2 separate regions of the Homo sapiens genome follow, and region 1 is linked to region 2. Evidence: promoter capture Hi-C in human tissues and cell types (Jung and others, 2019). All regions are on one chromosome and are shown on one strand. The core of a region is centred on a gene start or on the middle of the fragment in contact, and the rest is flanking DNA. Distances in the headings are between cores, read along the strand shown. Region 1 overlaps KIF5C (kinesin family member 5C). Region 2 holds the start of EPC2 (enhancer of polycomb 2).

Evidence for each region. Contacts are between HindIII fragments. The study calls those that stand out against the background at their distance.
Region 1: a fragment that was not itself captured here is called in contact with the fragment with the promoter of EPC2 in region 2 in 1 of the 25 tissues and cell types used here (dorsolateral prefrontal cortex).

The regions. Positions count from the first base shown.
Region 1 is chr2:148,901,725-148,908,253 of GRCh38, forward strand. The region is part of intron 1 of KIF5C (kinesin family member 5C); the gene reads left to right. Among named protein-coding and RNA genes, the nearest start is that of KIF5C-AS1, 10 kb to the left of the region's middle. The HindIII fragment of the contact is 3,200 bases long and covers 3,531-6,529 here.
Region 2 is chr2:148,643,180-148,649,218 of GRCh38, forward strand. It overlaps EPC2 (enhancer of polycomb 2), which reads left to right and starts at 1,572. Exons shown (of 14, transcript NM_015630.4): 1 at 1,572-1,991. The coding sequence starts at 1,839. RefSeq lists silencers at 1,226-1,805, 2,566-2,655 and enhancers at 1,645-2,149, 2,746-2,895. The HindIII fragment of the contact is 15,800 bases long and covers 1-6,039 here.

The DNA.
Region 1 (6,529 bases), core at 3,881-6,380, 260 kb after region 2:
GCAGGCTCCTGTCACTGTAGCACTTGGTCCCTCCATCCCTCCCAGCCTTCCTAGCTCCTTGCTCCTGGAAACCTCCCCCCATCAATCTCTGACATTTCAGAGGAAATACTGTTTGTCACCTCTTAAGGAATCTGGAGGACGGCCTGTGAGATATGGCGTCAGTTACAGCCTCTTAAAGAGTCAATAGCCCCTGCAGAGGCCAGAACACTGGAACAAATGTAAGGAAGGTATAGTTTTTAAAGATTTTTGACTTGAATTAAATAGGATTGGTTACTTCTTGCCCCTCCCGAGGGTGGACTGTGCACAGAAGAGACCTCTTCACCGGGTTTGCTGCTCTTTTTCGCACTGTGAGTTGGGGTTCTAACAGTCAGCGTTGGTCCATAACAAAATGGAAATCCTTTCTTTCCCCTCCTGTTAATGCCCCCTGTCTGTGCAGTGACTGTGCAACCAGCACCTTTTGTGGTCGAATCAGCCAGCAGAAGTGCCCCTCGTGTTCCTGGATTCTCTCTTCTGTGGTTCCATTTCTTTGAGTCCTGGGTTCTCGCCCTGAATGGCTCAACAGGGGGAAAGGCAGACAGCTTCTTCGTGCCAGAAACATTTTTTTTTTTTTGAAATAGTGTCTTGCTCTGTTGCCCAGGCTGGAGTGCAGTGGTGCGATCTTGACTCACTGCAATCTCTGCCTCCCAGGTTCAAGTGATTCTCCTGCCTCAGCCCCCCAGGTAGCTGGGATTACAGGCACACGCCACCACGCCCAGATAATTTTTGTATTTTTAGGAGAGTCGGGGTTTCACCATGTTGGCCAGTCTGATCTCAAACTCCTGACCTCAAGTGATCCACCCACCTTGACCTCCCAAAGTGCTGGGATTACAGGCATGAGCCACTGCCCTCGGCCCAGGAACATCTGTAGTAAGTACTTTGCCATCTCTGTTCCTTCATATCTCTTCTTTCAAATGAGGATGCTGCTAGTTTTTCTTATGGGAGCCCAAGGAAAATTAGAATATTTTGTAGTGCTCGTGTATTCCTGCAAAGAGCATTTCACATTGGTTATGTTTTATAGCTTGGACCCTTTAAACCTTTTCCCTGCAACACACACAAGATGTATTATGTATTATATTCCTAGCTGTTTTAAATTCAAATGCCTAATCAAGAGAAGCTAAGTAAAATAATTCTTGGCCCCTGCTGAGTTTTAGTCCTGTGCCTCATTCTCTGCTTGCCTGCTTATTCCTCTAATTCCTAAATTCAACATTTATGCACAGGCAGTGGCTTCATGGAGCATTGGGTTGAGAGGGATTGTAAGGCTGCCCTTGAGCTGTACTTGGGCTCTGCAGGCAAGTGTGCTGTGGCTGAAGAGTGATGTCTGCTTGGGGAGACATCAGAAAGATGGGGAGCCTCGGTCTAGGTATTTGCCAAGGCTGCTTTGATAGTCCTACCCTAGATTTCATGGTATTCCATACACCTAGTGCTATTTACTAAGTGTATGCTCCATAAATAATGCTCATGTTGCCTTTAAAAACTTTGTCCTTCTGGAAGCATGATTATCTGTCATGTTAAATAAACAGGTCTGCCCACAAGAGCATGGCTACTGGCACTGAAGCTCATTCCAGCAGAATTTAAGTGTCATGATGCAAGGCACTCAGGTCTGTTTCCCGTGCCCTTCTCCCTCCTTGAAAGAACCTCAGCTAAACGCCTTTGCTTTATAGTTTTAGCTCCATGTGGCAGACATTGGAGACACCCTTTAACTGCTCCTTAGTGGATGCGAACACACCCTTACTGCTGTTTTTAGTGGCCCTGATGAGAACCTGGAAGTATTTCCAAGGCCCGTCATGCAGGTGTGGCTCACTGTCTGAAGCAGTAGTATCTGTGGCTAGATGCAGTGATCGAATGCCATGTGTCCAGGTAGTGTTCCAAGTGTTTTACATATATTGTTATTTCGTCCTCACAGAATCTTATGAGAGAGCTGCTGCAGTATTATTATCATCCTCACCTGAGCTCAGAGAGCTGCGATAACTTGCCCAAGGTCACATAGCTACTAAATTGTGAAGGCTGGTTTTTAGCTTAGGCAGTCTGAATTTAACCTGTTTAACCAGTGAAGTGCCTTGAGCACTTAACTAGAAGGCAGAGCCCTGTATGTTCTTGGGAAGTTATTTTTTTTCCCCTTTTTTCCCATCTATAAAATGAAGATTTGGGCAGGATGGTTTAGATTCCTCTGAGCCCTATCTTATTTGATTCTAAGTTACATGTTGAAGGTATCTTTGAGCCACTCTACTGCTACTCGCCATAAAATGTGATGAATAATGTATGTATGTGCTAGAGGTATACAGATTGAAGTGAAGACTTGAACCTTCTTAGCACACACCAGAATTATAGCTTGTCAAGAGCAAGAGATTTATTTTCCCAAACAATTAGAGGACACCAGTAATTATGTTTAATTACATGTTGAATGGTTTTCCTGTTGTGTCAACCCCATTGTCTTAATTGTGCTTAAGAGCAGCAGGCTATTATTTTGAGGTTTGTGAAGTTTAAAATTGCTGTGTCTCAGCATCGGGGGAGCACAAGCGTTAAGAGCACAGGCTCTGGCATCAGACGATCTGCAAATCCTGGATCTGCCACTTACAATAGATCCTTGGCAAGTTCCTTAACTTCTCTAATGGTTCCTCGTACTGGGAATAATAACAGCATCGATCTCACGAGTGTATTGTGAAGATTGAACAGCACATATATGAGGAGTGTCGTGCTGCGTTTGGCATGTAAACCTTTCAGATGTTGGCTATCATATTATTTATTATTATGGATTAGGCGTTGATGGTGGGCAGTCTCTGACATGTTCCAGGATCCAACCCTGATGGATAGAGCCATCTGGGGTAGATCTGGGCTCCAGCTTGGATGGATTGCTGCTGTTTGGTACTAGTTTTGACATTTAGGGTGTTTGTTGTCTATCTTGTTTCTAGTTTATGTCTGTAATCTCATTTTCTAAAAGCATGTGGAATGGAGCTAAGAAATACGGCAACCATTGAAAAAGTTACAATTGTTAAGTCCTCTGAAGAGAGTCACAGAGGAAGGAGAACTAACTCTAGTATTTAGTAGGAAAATTATCTTTGTAGTTGATAATTTTAGGCAGTACACAGCAGACATGGGCTTAGATAACATTGAATCAGGTAGTGGAAAGTTATTTTCATTTTATTCCTCTTTCAGCCCTTCTGAATCTACCAAAGACAAAGCTTCAGTTTGGTGCTAGTGTTTAATCTCTAATACTTTGGAATTTCCCTCTTAATAAAAGGAAAGAACAGGTCCTAGGCTTGGAGTCCTTGACATGCAATGTTTCTAGCTAGAGCTCATTAGTATTGCTTTGTTTTCATTGTATCTCTTTTTATTGCCTTCTGTTTATAGCATGTAATACTGATTTTTCACTTACAACAGTAATATAAAAGTTTCATTGAAAGTATATTTAAGGAAAAATAAGTTAATTAAAAAAATATTAAATTAAAGGTAGAGTGGATGGTACATGGTTATGACAAAAATTGTGATGGTGCCACCCAAATCCCTGAGTTAGGACACATTGGTTTAGAGAGGAAAAAAAGCACAAAAACTTAATGCTAGGGAAGGCCAATATTTAAAAAGAGAAATTAAAGAAGTTGGAGAAATTAAAGAAGGGGAGAAATCATTGCAGAAGTGGGAGGGGCAGATGCTTGGAGAGGGTGATAAAGGGATGGCAAAGGAGAGGCATTGGTTTGCTAAGGGGACAGCTGTGGGTGCCTTTGCTGCTTCCCATTTAGCAAAAAGACTGGCATAATGAGAAGTGAGAGGAAGGATGCTGGGAGTGTGTGCTACTTATTTCCAAAAAGCTTAGTGTGTGGTGATAGCACAGTGAGTTGAGGTAGAAGCAAGGTCGATGGCAGGTTTTTTGCTTTTAAGGATAGCACACATGTAGTCATGCTTTTAGCTAATGGAGGAAGCCTACGAGAAGGGAGAGATGGAGCCAGGGTCAAGGAGTGGGAGGATGGTATATTAGTCCACTTTCACACTGCTGAAAAAGACATGCCCGAGACTGGGTAATTTATAAAGAAAAAGAGGTTTAATGGACTTACAGTTCTGCATGGCTGGGGAGGCCTCGCAATCATGGTGGAAGGTGAAAGGCATGTCTTACACGATGGCAGGCCAAAAAAGAGAGCTTGTGCAGGGAAACTCCTCTCTGTAAACCCATCAGATCTTGTGAGACTTATTCACTGTCATGAGAACAGCACAGGAAAGACCCACCCCATGATTCAATTACCTCCCACAGGGTACCCCCATGACATGTGGGAATTATCGGAGCTACAATTCAAGATGAAATTTGGGTGGGGACACAGCCAAACCATATCAGATGGGTTTACCTAGGAGGGAGGGGAGAGAGAGTGAGACTCCCTTGGGGCCAGAGGGAAAAAGGGGAGGCAGAGGAAAGGGAAGGGAAGCTGCGTCTTCTCTTGCCAGTAAATTCAGCAAGTACATTTTAGCCAATTCGTGATGTCTAAATAATTCAGCAGAAAAAGAGGGTGAGGCGCAAGTATGAGTGCCTGGAGGGAACCAGGCTGTGAAAGTGGAGACTGAGGAATCTCAGGAAATACTGACTCATTGATCATAAGGAAGTCCCATGGGAGGGAGATGCCACAGTTGGCATCTAAGTAACTGATGTGCTTTACTGGAGGAAAGGCTTGGAGCTCAGGGCCTGACAGTGCTAGAAAACTGAGCAGGAGGACACAGTAGCTCATGCCTGTAATCGCAGCTAAGGTGGGAGTATTGCTTGAGCCCAGGACTTTGAGACCAGCCTGGGCAACATAGTGAGAACCCCATCTCTAAAAATAAAATAAAATAAAAATAATGAAGTCAGGCATGCTGGTGCATGTCTGTAATTCCAGCACTTTGGGAGGCTGAGGTGGGAGGATCGCTTGAGCTCAGGGGTTCGAGACCAGCCTGGGCAATGTGGTGAAACCCTGTGTCTACAAAAAATACAAAAATTACCTGGGTGTGGTGGTGCATGCCTGTAGTCCCAGCTCCTCAGTGGGGCTGAGGTGGGAGGATTGCTTGAGCCCAGGGGGTTGAGGCTATAGTGAGCTGAGATCATACCACTGCACTCCAGCCTGGGCGACAGAGCAAGACCCTGCCTCAAAATAAATAGATAAATTAATTAATTAAATTAAAATTAAAAGAATTAGCTGGGTGTGGTGGCATGTGTTTTGTAGTCCTAGCTACTCAGGATGCTGAGGTGGAAGGATCACTTGAGTCCAGAAGTTTGAGACTACAGTGAACTATGATCATTCAACTGCACTCCATCCTGGGCAACAGAGCAAGAATCCTGTCTCTAAAAACAGAAAAGAAAGAAAAAGAAAAAACTGAGAAGGACAATGAAGGTGGCAGCTGCTTTTCAGACCCAATCCAAGGGATTGGTCCAATGCTACCTGTTTTGGTCCCTCTTTGCTGCTGTCCTGTGAAGCTTCTTTAATTAAGAAAACACTGAGAGAGAGCAGTCCCCTGACAGTGGCTGACTGGCCATGTGGGGGGAAGTGACGTCACCTCCACCTGTGTCACAAGGACCGCCTCCTTGAGGATATGGCCTGTGAAGGACAGCCTGCAGTTACTTCAACTCTCCATTGTGAAGCACATGGGCTCCAGACGCAGTGGCATTAATGCACCCAGGTGTGGATTTATGGCCATGGAAAGGGCCCAGCACACTGCATGACCAGCTGCAAGCTTTGTGCATTAACCCAGGAGGCTGAAGTCTCTTCTGATCTTGCTCCCTGTAACCATATGTCCCTTAGATTTTATTCCTGGGTATATTGGATCATGGAGCTTGTGGGAGCAGAGCCATTTGCAGCAAATCTAATCTAGGAAGAAAAGGGAAGTCATTTTCAGCATATGGCTCCAAGCCTAGTGCTTCCTGACCTGAAATCCAGCCTGTGGGCATCAGGGGAAGAGTGGGAAGGAGGAGGTGAGGCGAGAGCATGTCTGAGTAGCTGACTGATGTGGAGCCAGCCTTTGTGGCCGAGGTGGCCCTGAAGGAAGGTGAGGGGCAGGGAGAAGAGAGTACCTACGTGTCCCTGACTCCTGCCTGACTCTGTGGCTCAGGGGCAGTCAAAGTGGTTAGCGACCCGGGACATACCCGGGACAGTCAACTGGGGCCGCCCAGCAGGCTGTCCAGAGTAAAAGCAATTCCCAGTCATTGGGGTCATCTGGAGATCTATGTTAGAGTCTCCAGACTGGGAGCCCCTGCTGTAGTCCTCGGGCTGTTCCTGTCTCAAATCTGTCCAGCCACTCGGTTGCTTTTGTCACTATTTATGTGAAAAGTTTTGGCTAGCCTGGATTTTCTTTTGTTTCAGCATTGCCCACAAACACCAATGTGGAATTAATCTGGAAAAGGCATCCCAATCTTTACCAGAGTTGAAAGTTGACCTTTTCAGGCAGCTCATATGATTACTTTTAGAAGCACTGTCAACATGCATTTTCCAAAGAAATGCATCAGAGACAGACTAGGTAGGTGAGTCCTGCCTCCCTCCCA
Region 2 (6,039 bases), core at 322-2,821:
TTAGACTATTTGGACACTACCATGAAGACTATATCCACCATTCTGCCTTCAAAGGAGGAGACTGCAGAGAGAAAAGGGGAAGAGGAACAGGAGGAAAAAGGGGGAGGGGAGGAAGTGGAGGAGGGGAAGAAGGACGTAATAGAGGAAGAGATATAGTTTTATTGTCACATAGAAATGACAGTAGGAATCAATTTTTTCACTGTTGGTCTTTAGGAAATCATCTGACTTTCTCTGAGTTAGAGTATGATCGATTATTAGAAAATGGTAAAATGTGTTAAAAACTCTCTTTGTACGGTTTTGTGAGAAATGTGTAATGCTTAAAGACTAACCAAGAGCCTCTTGGCTAAACCAGGTTGATGTCAACAATAGCTAGTACTTATTTGAGTCACCTTGATTTTCCCTCCTCTTGAGAACTTTCTCTAACCAGTTTAGGCTGCAGTCATGCCTCCTTTCCTTTCTCTGAACTCTCACAATTATTGCCTAGATCTCGTTTGGTAATTAATCATGTGCTACTTACTGCCTGTGTCATCTCTTGTATTGTTTTCTTAAAATATTTACACTTTTTTTTCGGTTGTCACTTATCTTTCCAGCTGTCATTTTCTTCAACTATTTACGTCTCTGTTACTCATCTTTCCAGCCATCCTGGCATCCCATTAAGGTGAAAGCTCTCTGAGGCAGGAACCTTTTCTCAGATTTCTTCGAGTCTTCCACAGCACCCCACATTTGACACACATCTGCTACTTCGCAAATGTGTGCTGCCTTGGCTAAATTTTTAGAAGCTGAACTTTTAGGAAAGCTACTATTTTTGAACTCAGAAAAATACCTACCATCCACTAAACAGCTGTACCGAAGTTTGGGTGACAGGGAACCTAAGTTCACTTGTTGCATCTGGCAGCCTCAAACCATGAACCCTCACTGCAAAGCGAGGATGAACGCGCTGCTGCACCTTGGAGAGCTCTTTCGGACAGGTACGGAGGGGAGGGCGTAGAAGAGGGCTGGCACCAGCAGCGCGGTCCAGTCCTCCGAACGGACTGATGGGACTGATGGGAGAGACCTCTTGCACCTCTCGGGGATGTGCGCCTCGGAGGATGCGAATTAGCTTGCGCACAGGGCGCCTTGGGGATAGCGCTGTCCAAGTACAGGCTTGGGTGATGGCTGGTGGGGTCCGGGTCGACATTTTCCCTTCCCGCTCCCGGACTTCTGCACACACGCGCTGCTCGGCGCAGCCGTCTTTGCCCGGCGCCTTCCTCCGGGACACCCAGCGAGAGGGGTGACCGGGCGGCGGCGGGAGAGGCGCACGCTCCCGGGCGCGGGCGAACTTGCGCACCTGGCACCTGCCACACAGCGAAAGCACCGGCCAGCGAGCGGAGGGGCGCCGCCCCCGCCCCCTCTCCCCGGAGCGGACCGAGACCGAGCACGCTCCCGCGGGCCGGCAGCGCCGCGGAGAGAGTGGGTGGGCAGGCGAGGGAGGGGAAGGGAGAGGAAGGAGGGAGGGAGGGAGAGGGCGAGGCGCGTTCCCGCGACGGGGGCGCGCTCTCGCGCGGGCTGCCGGGATCGCTCGCCGCCGCTGTGGTAATGTCCGCCATGTTGGCCATGGCGCAGGGAGCGGATCGGGCGGGCGAGCGGCGGATCTAGTGTGTGGAGGCGGCCGCGGGCGCGGGGGGCTGTTTTCGGGCGGGGTGGGCGCCCATGCTGTGGCCGGGGGCAGTGAGGAGGAGGAGGAGCGGGCCGGCCGCGCTGCACTGAGGAAGGAGGTGGAGGAGGCGGCGGGAGTCCTCCCCCCCTCCCCGCCCGCCCCGCCGCCGCCGCCCGGGCTGTTCCTGTAAGGCGGGGAGACAATGAGTAAACTCTCCTTCCGAGCGCGGGCGCTGGACGCCGCCAAGCCGCTGCCTATCTACCGCGGCAAGGACATGCCTGATCTCAACGACTGCGTCTCCATCAACCGGGCCGTGCCCCAGATGCCCACCGGGATGGAGAAGGAGGAGGAATCGGTAGGGACTCGAGTGTTTATTACCCCCCCTTCCCTCCTCCCCCCTCCCCTTTGTCAGTCGGGCCTCGCCATTCACAGAGCGCTTTACGCTCGCTGGAGGGCGCCGCTGCCGCTCTAACGCACGGGACTCTACGCCGGCGGAGTAGCGTAAACCCTCTCGGCCGGCGTAGCGCCCGCCCGCGGCCGCCATGTTGTTGCGTCCCAGTGTTGTGATTAGCTCGCAGCGCTGCTTACGCTGCCGTAAGGGGGCCTTGCCGTAAGCGGCGGCCGGGAATGGCGCAGGGGATGCGCTGGCCGCTCTTGGCGTACGGTCTCTGTTTACCTTTCCACCTCCCTCTCTCAGGCGCGGGGCTAATTAATGGCGTGGTATTATTTGGCTAGGCAAGATTATTATTTTTTCCACTTTTAACTTTGGCTTTGTATTGAGTTCTCTTTGAAATGACTGTGGAAGGGTGCTTTCAAAACAAACATCTTCCTCCCAGCAATGTAATCATCCTGGCTCCCCCGCCCGCGAAGGTGCAGCGGGATGAGGCGGTGCAGCACTGCGGCGGGGGAGGGCGGGGGCCACGACTACCGAGCGGGTCGTAGCGTCCGAGGGCCGCCCGCCGGCCAGTTCTGCCGACCCGAGCCGGGCGCGGGGCGGACGGGCTCTGCCTGCTCCGCCTGGACGGCCGTGCTCCGTGCGCAACGTTAGAGAGGAGCCGGGGATGCCCGGAAGCGAGCCGCCGGCGTTGCGTTGTCCTCGAGAATTGTCATTGCGAGGTGGTCCTTAGAAGTTGAGGACCTAGTGCATCTAAATTGGCAGTTGTAATTTTGATAATACAGCACCTTTTGGGAAAATTGCTGCTTTTCCTCCGATGGGTTAAATTTTGCAGACGGTTGGATTTCATCTGGCTTGACAGAGAGTGTTTATGACTCGAGTGGTGTTACTTGCGTGCGAAGTTCATAGTAACTGCACCCTCAAGAATTTCTTCAATGAACCTACAGTCCCGCCTTATTGTCAACCTCGGGTGTGTGTGGATTGGTTCTCTTGCTTCAGTGACTGTCAAAAGGAAGCTCGAGGTTTCAGTGATTGGTTTTCTCTTTTGACTATTAATATTGCAGGAAATGCTTTTATGCCTTCGATTGGCTGGTTGAGTTCTGACCTCATTATGTTACCCTGTTAATACTACTTTGCTCTTATTTAATCACATTTCTCTTTGATGTATAGTTACTTGAAAGTCTTACATTTTCAGTAGAAAATGCATATGGCCGTAGCATCGGGATGAACTTAACTGTGTGTGTACACACACAAATATGTAATAGATATATATACACGCACATACACATATATATTTGTGTGTGCATATATATAAATATGTTTATAATCAAAACCCAGCATTTATCCCTAAGGTTTAGAGCTGTGAGAACTTTTTTTTTTGTATGTGAGAACTTTTTTTTTTAATTTGTTTCTAACGACTCAGTTTTCCATGGGAAGGAAAATTAAAATAAAATCATATTATATACAATAGTTAATTACATTGAACCCTAATAAGCACAACTTTGGATATTTTTGCTATTTTGTGGGTCTTGATCCAAAGAAAGATGGCCTTAAAAGTACCAGTATTGTGTGTAATTACTTTGATCCTATTATTTTAGAACTTGAGTCAAATCTGTTCTAGGCCGGGCACGGTGGGTCACGCCTGTAATCCCAGCACTTTGGAAGGCCGAGGTGGGCGGATCATGAGGTCAGGAGTTCGAGACCAGCCTGGCCAGTATGGTGAAACTCCGTCTCCACTAAAAATACAAAAATTAGCCGGGCCTGGTGGTGCGCGCCTGTAATACCAGCTACTCGGGAGGCTGAGGCAGAAGAATTGCTTGAACCCGGGAGAAAGAGGTTGCAGTGAGCAGAGATCGTGCCACTGCACTCCAGCCTGGGGGACAGAGCGAGACTCCGTCCCCCCCAACAACAAAAAAAAGGAAATCTGTTCTAGAGTGAACAGTTAACTCCTGGAAGGTATATTACTTTTTGCAATCACCAACATACGTGGTCCTTAGTATGCCACATATGTTTTGGTATTTTAATTTAGTAAGATAACTTAGAGTAATTTTTTCATGCTTCATTAAAAATAAAAGTGCTTAACTCGTGTTGCAATTTTTTGTTTATTTGTTTTTTGAGATGGAGTTTAGCTCTTGTCGCCCAGGCTTGATTGCAATGGCGCGATCTCGGCTCACTGCAACCTCCGCCTACCAGGTTCAGGTGATTTTCCTGCCTCAGCCTCCCGAGCAGCTGAGATTATAGGCGCCCACTACCTCGCCCAGCTAATTTTTGTATTTTTAGTAGAGTCGGGGTTTCACCATATTGGCCAGGCTGGTCTCAGACTCCTGACCTCAGGTGATCACCCGCCTCGGCCTCCCAAATTTCTGGGATTACAGGTGTGAGCCACTGCGCCTGGCCGCGCCTTGCAGACTTTTTTTTTTTTTTTTTTTTTTTTTTTAATTTATTACCGAGTCTAGCTCTGTCGCCAGGCTGGAGTGCAGTGGCGCGATCTCAGCTCACTGCAACCTTCGCCTCCCGGGTTCAAGTGATTCTCCTGCCTCAGCCTCTCAAGTAGTTGGGACTACAGGCACGTGCCACTATGCCCAGCTAATTTTTGTATTTTTAGTAGAGACGAGGTTTCACCGTGTTGGCCAAAATGATTTCGATCTCTTGACTCTTGCTCCACCTGCCTCGGCCTCCCGAAGTGCTGGGATTGCAGGCGTGAGCCACCGTGCCCTGCCGCGCCTTGCAATTTTTTTATTAGCTCTTTTAGAAAGAATTATTTTCAAACTAGAGCATGAGTGCTAAACTTGGATACTTTTCAGTAGCCTACTTCAATTGCCCAATTTTAAGGAAGAAGAAATCCAAATTCTGATAAAACTAGAGTTGAAACCCAGAACCTCTGATTCTTTGTCCTGTCCTTTCTGCCTCTTTAATACATGCTAAAAGTGGAGATTCTTAAAATCAAAATTAAGCAAACCGTAACAGTTAAGATTTATAGTCTGAAATCTTTTGCTTCCCAGAGTGTCCAATTGGAGTATTAGTTTTTCTTTTTCTTTCTTTTTTAAATATGTATGTCAGAAGACTTGTGTTTTCATGAGTGACAGCAAATTCATTTCTCTGGTCTTACAGGACTTCTGTTATTAAACAGAATTATGTATTTATAAAAATGGTTCTGCCTTGATAAATATTTCTAAGCAGCAGTAAAATGTCATACATTTCACAAATGTTTTGTGTTTCACTTGAATTGCATTTTAAGTAACTTTCAATATCTAGATGTCCTTAACTCCTTATTTTTATAAGATTTTTTTCTTTTAAATCAGTAGGCTTGTAACAAACAAACCAACCTTGGCTTACGGATTCACAATTGTTGCTGGGTGTCTCTGAACTGTGCTGTCCTGCTTGGTTGGCAAAATCTTTTGAAGCCTTCATGGATGGCTTTTTCCCATTCCCCCTCTATCCCCACCCACCCTTAAAATTAAGGCCTGTCTCTTCTGTGTAGCTATTGGACTATCATTAGACTTCGTTTATATAAACAAAGTCATTATTCAAGTTCGAGTTACATTCTGACTGAGTTACATTCTGACAATGCCTGGATGAGGTGATTTAGGTGTTCTTGGGCATTGGTAACATTGTATCATTGATAATCATGTCATCCTGTGTAGCCTCTTCTTTTGGACATCCAAACATCTTTTACTTCTTTTCTTCCCTATCCTTATTATCATTGTCCTCTGCTAAGAGCTGCCAGTTGGCATCCTCCTTTAACTTGGTCTTTGTAATGCTCCTCACGGCACTTGGTCTAGGTCAAGTACTGTACACTTATGTTTATTTAGAATTTAGACCAGAAAGATCAGGCAGCCAGCGGTTCTGCCGCCTCCCCATGAGTGTTGTATAGTGGTAGTTGATGTTTTTACTAATACTTGCCATTTACTGAATACTTCATATATCCGAGATACTGTGTTAAGGGCTTTACATATATTATTTCATTTAATCCTTTTTTTAAATAAACTTTTTTTGAAGTATACTTTAC